2 separate regions of the Homo sapiens genome follow, and region 1 is linked to region 2. The links are contacts of gene promoters, found by promoter capture Hi-C in human tissues and cell types (Jung and others, 2019). All regions are on one chromosome and are shown on one strand. Each heading gives the region's core, a stretch centred on a gene start or on the middle of the fragment in contact. The rest is flanking DNA. Distances are from core to core; before and after follow the strand shown.

Region 1 (6,143 bases), core at 1,554-4,053, 690 kb after region 2:
ATGGTATAAAAAAAATCCAGGAAAAGAAATAGTGTGAGCAATACAGTAGAGTCACAGAAAGACAAGAAATGTAGCTTTTGTAGACCACAATATTTCAGGAAAAAGAAGAGATGAAGCTGCAGGCTTTTGCTAGAGATCCATTTTTAATATGCTGAGGAATTTATACACTTAGAGATGAAAGGGGTCTTTAGAAAGCTAAGAAAGAGGGATGATTGATATTCTACTTTGGATGGATGGTGCCGGGACTCAAGTGGATTCAAGTGGGGATAAGATTGGAGGAAATGACTAATGTGGCATTGCAAATATTTCAGGCAGAAGACAATGGCACTGGATGAGAAAGGATGTGAATTATTCTAAAAATGTTTGCAAAGCGAAACCAGCAGCATGTAAAAATGGCATCACGTCATCACCATGTGTGGTTTATTCTGAAAATGAAAGGGTGGTTTAATATTCAAAAATTAATCAATGCTAATAAACCATATTAACAGACTAAAGAAGGAAAAGCATATGATCATCTTTTGAGATGCAAATAAAACCCTGAAATAATTCAATGTTTATTCATTCAATACAATAAAAAGTCCTCAACTAAAAAAAAAAACCCACAAAATACCTACAAATGAAGTCATTTATTAGTAAAAGATTGAATGCTTTCTTTCTAAAATCAGGAACAAGAAAAGGATGTCCCCTGTTACTATTTTTATTGGTCGTTGTAGGTAGCTCAATAAGGAACAAGAAAAAAGAAATGAAAGCACATAGATTGTAAAAAAAAAAAAAACAAAACAAAACAAAAAAAAACTGTTTCTATTTACAGATAGTGTAATTGTGTAAGAAAATACAAATGAATCCATAGGAGGCTACTAGAACTGAAACATGATATTAGCAAAACAATGTTTAAAAACCAGGCCGGGGCCCGGGCATGGTGGCTCATGCCTGTAATCCCAGCACTTTGGGAGGCCGAGGTGGGTGGATCACGAGGTCACTAGATTGAGACCAGCCTGACCAAGATGGTGAAACCCCGTCTCTACTAAAAATAGAAAAATTAGCTGGGCATGGTGGCACGCGCCTGTAATCTCAGCTACTCAGGAGGCTGAGGCAGGAGAATTGCTTGAACCTGGGAAGCGGAGGTTGCAGTGAGCCGAGATCGCGCCACTGCACTCCGGCCTGGTGATGGAGTGAGACTCCGTCTCAAAAAAAAAAAAAAGAAAAAAAAAATCAGGCCGGGTGCGGTGGCTAATATGTGTAATCCCAGCACTTTGGGAGGTGGAGGGAGGAGGATCCCTTGAAGCCAGGAGTTTCAGATGAACCTGCCCAACATAGCAAGACCCTGTGTCTACGAAAAAAGAAAATTAGCTGGGCATGTTAGTTTGTGCCTGTGATCCCAGCTATGAGGTGGGAGGATTGCTTGAGCCTCCATGTTTGAGGCTGCAGTGAGCTATGATTGTGCCACTGCACTCCAGCCTAGGTGATGGAGTGAGACCCCCCCATCTCTAATAAATAAATAAATAAATAAATAAATAAATATCAGTTGCATGTTAATGTGCTAGCAATGAACAATTTGAAATTGAAATTTCAAGACTGCCATTTTAATAGCACCAAAAACCTAAAATAATTATGATGTATAAATGTAACAAACTCTGTGAATGACCTGTATGTCAAAAAATTTAAAAAAAAGTATGAAAGAAACATTGATTAAAGACCACCTAAAAAGACATGAAGATGTTCTCTAGTCATGATCTGGAAGACTCAAGTGATATTGTCATTTCTCCCCAAATTAATTTATAGAATTAATGCAATTTGAATCAACATGACACGTGATTTTTAAAATAAGAGTTGACACAGTGCTTCTAAAATTTAGTAAAAATTCAAAAGAATAACCCAAACCACACTGAAAAAGGGAGAACATAATTGGAGGGCTCACGCTACCTGGCTCAAGGCTCACTGTAAAGCTGCAGTAGTCAAGTCAGTGTGGCATTAGCAGAAGGATAGACACCTGAATGAATGAAACTGAAAAGAGTCCAGAAATAGACTTGCTAAATATTGTCAATTGATTTTCTACAAAGCTTTGCAAAGGCAATTCAATTGAGAAAGGAAAGTCTTTGTAGTAATCGATGCTGGGATATTCGTATGCATAAAAATTGCACTTTGACCCATATCTTGCACTGTATAGAAAAATTAACTCAAAATAGATTATAGACTTAAATATTAAAACATATAAAGTTTGTTTTTAAAATTGCTTTAAGTTCCAGGATACATGTGCAGAACATGCAGGTTTGTTACATAGGTACACGTGTGCCATGGTGGTTTGCTGTACCTATTGACTTGTCCTGTATGTTTCCTCCCCTTGCTCCCCGTCCCCCAACAGGCCCTGGTGTGTGTTGTTCCCCTCCCTGTGTCCATGTGTTCTCATTGTTCGACTCGTACTTATGAGTGAGAACATGCAGTGTTTGGTTTTCTGTTCCTGTGTTAGTTTGCTGAGAATGATGGCTTCCAGGTTTATCCATGTCCCTACAAAGGACATGATCTCATTCCTTTTTGTGGCTGAATAGTATTCCATGGTGTATATGTGCCACATTTTCTTTATCCAGTCTATCACTGATGGGCATTCGGGTTGGTTCCAAGTCTTTGCTATTGTGAATAGTGCTGCAGTAAATATACATGTGCGTGTGTCTTTATAGTAGAATGATTTATATTCCTTTGGGTATATACCCAGGAATGGGATTGGTGGGTCAAATGATAATTCTGGTTCTAGATCCTTGAGGAATCACCACACTGTTTTCCAAAATTGTTAAACTAATTTACATTCCCACCAACAGTTTAAAAGCCTTCCTATTCCTCCACAGCCTTGCCGGCATCTATTGTTTCTTGACTTTTTAATAATCGCCATTCTGACTGGCGTGAGATGGTATATCATTGTGGTTTTGACATATAAAATTTCTAGAAGTAAACTTGATGACCGTAAGTTCAGCAAAGAGTTCTTAGATATAAGAATAAAAACACTGTCCTTGAAAGAAAAGGTCAAATATAATTAATCAAAATTAAGAAATCCTGCCTTTTGAAAGACCCTGTTAAGAAAATGTAAAGACAAGCCAAACACTATGAGAAAATACTAGCAAAACATATATTTAATCAATAAGTAACATTCAAAATATATAATAAACTTTGAAAATTCAATAGTGAAGAAAGAGAGCAATAAAAATTGGGCAAAATATTTGATAAGACATTTCACCAAGATATATGAATAGAAAATAAACGTGAAAAGATGCTGAATATTCTTAATTATTACAGGAATTCAAATTAAACCACAATAAGATACTACTACACCTCTATTAGAATAATCAAAATAAAAAAGCACTGGCTACATAAGTGTCAGCAAAGATGCTGACCAAACAGAACTCTCCTCTATTGCTGGTAGAAATGCCAATGGTATAGTCACTTTGGAAAAAAACATTTAAAGTGGCTTTGTTTGTAATCCTCCCTGGAAACTGGAAACATGAAGAGACCTTTCTACCATATTCACACATTTACCCACTTCCAATCTTTATTTTACTAGGAATCTTTTAATGATAAACATATTCCAAATAAGGACCAATAAGGATTTTGAATATTAAAAAGTAGAGGTTTTTAAATTCTGAGGATTAGTGATAATGTACATGTTGGCACATATGTATTTTATTTTTACCTGTATACACTTTCTTATTCTTCTGCAAATCAAAGTATACATTAACCCTGAGACCCCAGCTCCTTCATTTCATCCTCACGTGATAAACTCTGGGAAAACTTTAAAACACATTTACAAAGGACATGATTGCAACTTTTGCATGCTCTTTCAGCAGAGCTAAATTCAGGATATAATTATTTTCTTTAAAAATTCGGTTGACTCAACATATTTTCTAAAGAGGAAATTCCAAGGCATTGAAAAACACATCTGTGTTATACAGAAAACATTTTCTAAGCAGGAAAAGTCTTTCTGACTATGCAAAATATCATCAGATTTTCAATTGCATGTTATCTCTATCCAAAGACTCCTTTTCCTTGAGTCAGTATGGTTTAGAAACATGGGCAAGCAAGTCATGGTAATGTCAGAAGCTTAGCCAAACTACTATGAAAAACAGATACTGTATTAAGGGATTTTCTTGGGACAAAACAGCAGCTTTTTAAGTCAGCTCTGCATCTCTGGTTTGCACGGTTAGGCTTGATAATGGCACGCGTCTCAAAAGCCCGAGATGAGCGATGCCTTCGCTGCTCCTCATAGACGTACTACCAACCACTGGTAATTATGTCTTTAATCTTTTGAAGTAAAATGTTGTTGATTCTTTTCAGCTTGTATTTTTCTCTACATCTCATTAAAAGCCTACAATGAGTAAAAGTAATAGATGAAAAATTGATGTGGATGATGGAATCTAGAAATGAGACTTGAGAGCCTGATGCATCACCTGTCCATCGCTGGTTTTCAACACATTTCTTCTGCCCCTCATGGAAGGAGGTGGGACCCACACTTCCAGCCCTTTGGAGCCCCTGGGGAAACTCTGAGATATTCCAGTCCCCACCTCTGTGTGTTCTGATGTCACAGGTCCACTCCACAGGAGGACTGGAACACAGAGGTCTGACACAACAGCCAAATCTAAGCTGCACAACTCTATACCTCTAACAAGCAGTTTAGAAAATATGCTGATATTATCGTTTTTATAAAGAAAACCATTTCAAAATTCTGCATGTTTCAAGAAGTTGGAGATAATTTCCTTTATTTTGAGGAAGACAATACTGAACTATGGGAAGATGGACAAGGTTAGTTCCAGCACAGAGAGTCAAGCTCTCGACAGACATTGGCCTGGACACACAGAAGGACAGGGTTCAATACTCTCTACCAAGCAAGAAAATCCTTCTGTTTCCAGGCTACTGGGAAAGCTAGTTCAGAAAAGGTGGGCTCCATATACTCTCATTCCTTTCTGCACCCCTAAAATCCTGAGACAAAGACATATTCCTAAACTAGGCAAATGTTCAAGCAGTCATTGTAGATTCTGAAACCAAAGGGAAGTGTGATTTGCCTCTTGTTGTATTTATTTGTTGTGTTGTTTTTGTTTATTGTTACCCTTCCAAGTCATAATAAGTAACATTTGAGAAGCTGCACTAAGGTGTCAAATGTCGCTCTTGATTACAGGTCAAGTACAATTTCGACAAATATTATTTTAATTGAGTGATTTCTTAACAACGCAGTGTCCTCATTCTGGTAGATGGGCCAAAGAGGCTTAGCTTTATTGCTTTGTTAAAAGTCAGTCACTCTGTGATGAAAGATGCTATTTTGCACGGGCTACTCTATAGATCTACATGAGAGACCTCCTTGAGCTGTGGCTACTTTTCTGCAGGGTTAGGTAGGGATGTGCTCTCCATGGTTCCTGCCAGCAGGAATCCCTCCCTTCCCCTTCCTGGTGCTCCTCCTCCACAAGTACACAGTCCACAGACCTTGAACTTAGGTAGTGAGAGTAAGAAAGGAAGGGAAAAGAAAAAAAGAGGTAAAAATAAACATCTATAAGTTCCATATACACTGCTGTGAGCGAATGTGTGTGCTTTAGCAGGAGAAAAATATTTTAGTATTGAACAAGCCAACTCAACCCGGACTTTTCCTGCAGAATCCTCAAATAATTAAGCATCCAATAGAAAAAATTAAGCCAGTATGTGACATCATCTGGCCTAGTTTCAAGAACAACTCTACATTAAACATTCTTCACTCTTTCACCTGATGGGCAGGTTGAAGTTTGGCATTGCCTTATACCCCATCCCTTGCTGAACACTGGAAAGGAAGTCACCCCTATGATTAGTGAACGTGTGTCTACTTGTCTGGTCTTCTTCTCGTTCAACAACAACATAAACTACAAAAGCCTGGATTTTTTCTAGTGCTAGGAATTTGGATCATTTAAAACATCTGATCAAATTCAGGTAAAATAAAACTAGTGCAGAAATTACCTATGAAAGAAAAATTGAATAAGAATAAAAGATCAGTGTGTTGGTTGCTTTCCCATCAAACTTGTACAAGGATAACATAGGCTCAGATATGTAAACATCTAAAAATTAAGAAACATGTGACATGAAATGTACACAAAATTTAAAACATGAAACTATAGCAAACTGGCTATGTACTGTTGTGT
Region 2 (6,556 bases), core at 3,036-5,535:
CTATTTCTCATTGCTGAGGATAATCGCAAGGGAGATGAGCTCTGTGAAGCTGGGTCCCCCGTGTTCTCTTCCACAGATCACACCCTCCACACAGGCCCTTCTCATTTCCCTGGGGCTGCCCTGTCCTCAGAGAAGGTCAGGGCTGTGCCAACACTGCAGAGACAGCACAGGTGCCAGGTGAGATCAGTTTCTGCAAACACAGAAGTGTGAGGAGTTTCTGTGCTGGTTGAGGCTCCAAGGCCTGTTTGACTGGTTTCTCCACTCTGAGGAGCCAAAGTGTAGTGGAAGTGCCAGAGTGTGTTTTTGTTCCCGGGGTGAGTCTGGTGTGAAAGCTAGAGCTGGCCTTGCCTGAACAGGACAGCCACCCTACACCCTGCATATCTTCTCCCAACACACACACACATACATGCATGCACACTTGCACACACATGCAAACTTGTGCTCACATGCACACACAAACTCAAACCCACACACACATACATGCATGCACACTTGCACACACATGCAAACTTGTGCTCACATGCACACACAAACTCAAACCCACACACACATGCACACACAAATAGACATATACATACACACACAAAAACACATGTGCACACAGCTAATGCACAAGGCAGTCCCATGACTGATGATAACTCTCCCCTTCCTGCCTCTGGGGACCTGTCCAGCCACCTTGGAGAGGTTTTCATCCTTTCTATAGCAAGTTGCAGACGTCTTCAGTCCTCCTCAATGAAGGAGACTCCCTTTCTCCTCCAGGGTGGCAGGGAGAGTTGGCGTCTCCATGAGGGGCTCAGCTGACAGGCGCGGGAGAGGGGAGGAGAGCCCACCTCCAGCACTCAATCACAAAGCTGCCATCTCCCTGCAAACCCCCCCACTTCCCTCTTCTGTGCTGATCACGACCTTCTCTTTCTCACCTGGTCCCTGGATCCTTCTCTGCAAACTTCAGCCTGTCCCTCTGCTGCAGTTCTTCCCAGCCTTCTGCACCTCCCTTAGGCCCCTCGCACACAGCTCCGGGGGCAGCCACCACATTAGGGCTAGCTGGGGTATCTTCCTTCCTCTCACTTCCCTGCTGGGTTTGCTTCGCACATGGCCCCTGGGTCGGGGGAGCTCAGCTGTGGGATGTGGAGCCAGCGGCTGGGCACCCCAGCTTCAGGCTCCTTATGGAGTGGAGGACGGGTGATGCCCTTGGCCCCTGCATCACACAGGGATACACGCAGAAGGCGTCGCCTGAGAATGCACCTTAGCTAGAAAGAAGGGTTTCTCCCTCCTCAAAGCCAGGCTCTGCACCCAACTGCCGTGCTAAACCAGCCAAGGCAGAGGGGCTTGACCAAGCTTGCCTAGATTTGACAACAAATGCCATCTTGTCCCTCTTCGGGAGCCCCCATTTGGGCTGTGCCAGGCCGTCTGTGGTGCGGGTCACTCAGGCATGGCCGTCCTTGGTGTCCCTAGTGCTGAACCCAGAGGAGGGGAGTGGAAACTTCACCCACAGAGGCTGAGCCAAGGCAGCTGACGGCTTGCATACTTGCAAGCCACTTGTGGTGGGAGGCTGAGGGGAGGATGAAAAAAACAATCTCAGTGCTTGTACATGCCCTGAAAAGAGAATGTGTTAGGGAGGAAATGACCCCGGATGGGGAAACACGCAGCGGGAAGTCAGGGGACTTTCCCTATGGACACGGCCTCTCTCCATCTAGAAAACGCACATCGTGAGAATAGTGACCATCATCCTGTCTCGTGATGAGACAGCCTGAGGCTTTTTCTAAATAGGTGCTTCTGCTCTGCATGGAACTGCCTCTGTCTGGAGCTGACACTGAAAAGTCAGCTAATGCTCTGAGCCTTGGCATGTTGGACTTAACTAAACCTCGAGGTGGACGCATTTAATTTTTCCGTTCAATCAAAAGAGGTATAATCACAAAATTGTGAGATTCCCCTTCAAGTAGATGTTTTCCCGAGTGTTGGTTTACATCAAACATGAATCAGCTCGTTATTAACATGAGGTTTATCATAGAATAATAACACCTGCTGCTGGCTCTGTACTTAATATTCTGATCCTACACGCTCCGATCAGATATGGTGGGTGCATCATCCTAGTTTATAGATGTGGATATTGAGACACACGTTTCCACATCACTGACAAAACTGGAACCGGGAGCTCAAGTCTCCTAATATTGTTTGCAAAGTAGTATTTAATACCTGGGGAAAATGACATGAAATAATTATTAAGCCTTTGGATTTTAATCACAGGTCCCATCAACAAGATCAGAAGGAAAGGAAATTTCAACTATAGATTTAAATCTTCAGGTATTCTTTAAGGAAATAAAACAAGGAGCTGGGCTGAATCCAGCTATTCAGAGTCCCGCCCTCCCTGGGCCCCTCACCAGGCAGGATGCTTCTCTGTTCTCATCTCCTGGCCAGAACCACGTTCTCCACCCCAAACCGGTTGTCAATTTCATTGAGAAATTGGTTGCTCAATATTTATTGAGGCCTCTGTATTATTCCACCACTGAGGTGAGCTAGAAAATCTTCAAGCTATCTTTATAAAATGAGTTAGACAACTGGGACACTGCTCTCTGCATCTCTCTGTCTATGCTGGGTCCCCCTGAACTCCGGTGGGGTGACCCCCTTCCTTCCCTCTCCCTGCTGACCATGACCTTCCCTTTTGTACCTGGTCCACGGAGCTCCCTCTCTGCAGACCTCAGCCTCTCCCTCTGCTGTGGTGCTTCCGAGCCCTTTGCACCTCCCTCTGGCCCCTCACATGCAGCTCAGGGAGCAGCTGCCACACTAGGGCTGGCTGGGGCATCTTCCCTCCTCTCACTGCTCTGCCTGGTTTGCCCCTTGTGTGGTCCTGGGGGACTGAGCTGTGGGTCATGGAGTGCGTGGTTGGGCACCCCAGCCTCCGGCTTCCCTTGGAGAATGTGTGCAGCACCAAGGGGCTGGGAGGTGTTTGTCTGGCTGCACTTTAGGGAAGGAGAGGGCACTTGGTCTATTTGATGGGCTGAACAGGAGGGAGGTGGAATGTATAAACTTTCCCAGGGGAATAAAGGAGTTTGTTCCCTGTGTACGGGCAGGGGCTGGGGAGAAGAATGGGAATCTATGGAGATCAGAGGGGACTTGCTTGGGAAAGGCATTTTGGGGACTCCAAGGCAAATGTCCCCTCACAACTGTAGATCACATCAGTGGAAGGACTTGGGGATGGTCCCCCGAAAGCTTAGCTGTTGCTCTAAAAGTTGGTCAAGGCAAGTGGCCCTGGGGGTTTCCTTCCAGAGAACAGATCAGATTGAGGACCCCAGTAGGCTCCCAGATGGGTCTCTGTGCTTAGGGCTGATGCTTAGTAAAACCACAAGGAGGGCCAAGTTTGATGGCAGCCACCTGTTCTGCATCCTCCTGCACCTCTGCCTGCACCTTTGGGGTATGCTGGGCACTGAGGTCCCCCGTGTCTCGCTGCAGCAAAACTCCAGCTGTAACTGTTTGACGCCCTGTGAATGGAACGCCTGCCACTGAGCTCCCAGGGTGTCTGCACAGGGAACCTTGGACTTGGCGATGGAATTGAATTGTAGGAATCCCTGAGCTAGAAGGGAGTATTCTGGGGAGACAAAAAGTCTTTCCCTCTCCTCTGAAACTGCACGTCACATGTTCACTTGATAAACACCATCTCAGCACCAGCTATGGCTCTGAAGGCAGCCCTGGTCCCTTGCTTCCTTGAAGTTATAGGCAGTGAGCCCCATCCTCTGTCTCTAGACCCTGGCCTGGGAATCTCATGATACCCACAGTTGTGCCCTGGCAGAATCAACACTACCACCCACTTCCCTTCCACCAGCCCCAGCCTCAGGGCAAGAGCTAGGCAGTAGCACTGGAGAGAGGGGTACGGAAACACCAAACACTGGGGCCTGCTGTGCCCTTGAGGGAGCCCTCTTCAAGCCACCTCCCCCTCCAGTCTCAGTCTTTGTGAAGTTGCAGAAGCTGTCTTGAACCCCTTGGCTTGGTCAGGATCTCCGAGAATCAGCTGCAGGGGAAACTATCCCTTGGGCAGAATGTTCCTGGAGGGAGGTGGTTGCTATCAAGGCCAGGCGGGGTTGGCAGGCTAGCCATCCGATACCCCGACCCCATGGCAGTTCCCACCTGGCACCTGACAGCTCTCCCAACTCCCATTCCTGCATTTCCTGTCTGCAGCTGATCTGGCCCTCCCTGGGAGGAGGCTCTCACCCCAGGGCATTTGGAGGGTGGGGAGCCTCCCTCCTCCCTTTGTTCCGATTGCAGAAAAGGAGGGGGTTCCCATGCCAAGGCAGAACTGTCTGGGACAGACGCTGCCCGGATCCCTGCGGCTGCCTGCACTCTGGACCACGAGCTCTGAGAGCAGCAGGTTGAGGGCCGGTGGGCAGCAGCTCGGAGGCTCCGCGAGGTGCAGGAGACGCAGGCATGGCCGGTGAGCTGACTCCTGAGGAGGAGGCCCAGTACAAAAAGGCTTTCTCCGCGGTTGACACGGATGGAAACGGCACCATCAATGCCCAGGAGCTGGGCGCGGCGCTGAAGGCCACGGGCAAGAACCTCTCGGAGGCCCAGCTAAGGAAACTCATCTCCGAGGTTGACAGCGACGGCGACGGCGAAATCAGCTTCCAGGAGTTCCTGACGGCGGCGAAGAAGGCCAGGGCCGGCCTGGAGGACCTGCAGGTCGCCTTCCGCGCCTTCGACCAGGATGGCGACGGCCACATCACCGTGGACGAGCTCAGGCGGGCCATGGCGGGGCTGGGGCAGCCGCTGCCGCAGGAGGAGCTGGACGCCATGATCCGCGAGGCCGACGTGGACCAGGACGGGCGGGTGAACTACGAGGAGTTCGCGAGGATGCTCGCCCAGGAGTGAGGCTCCCCGCCTGTGTCCCCCTGGCTGCGCTCTGAGCCTTCAGGGCCACCGCCCGCTGCTGCTTTTGTGCTGGGACTCTCCGGGGAAACCTGGTCGGTGGATGGGAAACTGCCTCCCCCTGGGAGGAAGGCTTTGCGCTCCGGGGCCTGGATGCGGCGCCCTCGGGCCGCCTGCGAGCCCCTCTCTGCCTCCAGACCTTGGGCAGAAGGAGGCCTCCTTGGGCCTGGTCCCCCTTTGCCCTGCAGTGGAATGAGGGCCCCTCAGCCCCGCATTGATCTAAATAAAGGACTGCCGAGTTCCATGTGTGCTTGGTGTTTGTGGGGCGGCTGCCTCCGAGGGCCCCCACCTGCTTCCAGGGTTCCTTCCAGCCCACCCCTCTCACCTGCGGTGGCAGAACTGCCTGGAGCAGGCCCCAGGGGCAGCTCCTGCCTCCCCTGACGCGGAGCAGAGGGCAGGTGGGCAGAGGATGTGTGAGGATGGTGCTGGGCGGTGTCTGTGGCTCCAGGTTCTGCCTGAGCTGCTGGTGAGGACCTGGGCACGTGTCCCGCACAAACAGGAGCGGGCGCCTCGCATGGACAGACGGAGCCCAGCTGCCAGCCTCTGCACGCAGCCTGCCTCTCTTCGGCTGCAAATAATATACGTGTACGTCTGTGTGTGCATCTGTGTGTGTGTCTGTGTGTCTGTATGCGTGTCTCTGTATGTGTGCATCTGTGTGTAAGTCTCTGTATGTTTGTGTGTCTGTGTGTCCTTGTGTGCATCTGCATGTGTATGTGTGTATCTGTGTGTGTGTCTGAGTGTGTCTCTGTGTCTATGTGTCTGTGTGTGTCCATTTGTGTGTGTGTCTTATCTGTGTGTCTGTGTCTGTGTGTGGCTTTGTGTGTGTATCTGTGTGTGTGTGTCTCTGTGTCTATGTGTCTGTGTGTGTTTATCTGTGTGTGTCTGTGTCTGTGTGTGTGTCTGTGTATGTGTTTGTGTGTGTCTGTGTGCCTATCTGTGTGTGTGTGTCTCTGTGTCTATGTGTCTGTGTGTGTTTATCTGTGTGTGTCTGTGTGTGTCTGTGTATGTGTTTGTGTGTGTCTGTGTGCCTATCTGTGTGTCTGTGTGTCTGTGTGTTGTGTGTGTCTGTGTCTGTATATGTGTTTATGTCTGTGCATATGTGTCTGTGTCTGTGTATGTGTATATGTGTGTCTGTGTGTGGCTCTGTGTGTGTATCTGTGTGTCTAGGTATGTCTGTGTGTTCGTGTATGTGCCTGTGTATGTATCTGTGTGTATCTGTGTGTCTGTATATCTGTGTCTGTGTGTGTGTGTCTAGGTATGTCTTTGTCTGTGTGTCTATCTATCCGTGTGTCTGTGTGTCTATGTGTGTGTGTGTCTGTCTGTGTCTGTGTCTGTGTATCTGTGTGTCTGTCTGTGTCTATCTGTGGGTCTGCGTGAATGTCTGTGTCCATGTGTGTCTGTATGTGTCTGTGTGTCTGTGTGTCTTTGTGTGTGTCTGTGTGTGTGTCACTGTCTATGTGTGTGTGTCTGTCTGTATCCGTGAGTCTGTGTGTGTCTGTGTGTGCATGTATGTGTCTCTGTGTCTGTGTGTGTGTGTCTTTGTGTCTATGTGTCCGTGAGTCTGTGTGTGTCTGTGTGTGCATCTGTGCGTCTGTGTCTGTGTGTGTCTCTGTGTGTGTGTGTGTGTGCGTCTGTGTGGTTA

Evidence for each region. Contacts are between HindIII fragments. The study calls those that stand out against the background at their distance.
Region 1: a fragment that was not itself captured here is called in contact with the fragment with the promoter of CALML5 in region 2 in 1 of the 25 tissues and cell types used here (liver).

Annotation. Positions count from the first base shown.
Region 1 is chr10:4,802,545-4,808,687 of GRCh38, reverse strand. No RefSeq gene overlaps it. Among named protein-coding and RNA genes, the nearest start is that of AKR1E2, 21 kb to the left of the region's middle. The HindIII fragment of the contact is 6,184 bases long and covers 1-5,895 here.
Region 2 is chr10:5,497,299-5,503,854 of GRCh38, reverse strand. It overlaps CALML5 (calmodulin like 5), which reads left to right and starts at 4,285. Exons shown (of 1, transcript NM_017422.5): 1 at 4,285-5,158. The coding sequence starts at 4,417. The coding sequence ends at 4,857. The HindIII fragment of the contact is 7,245 bases long and covers 2,272-6,556 here.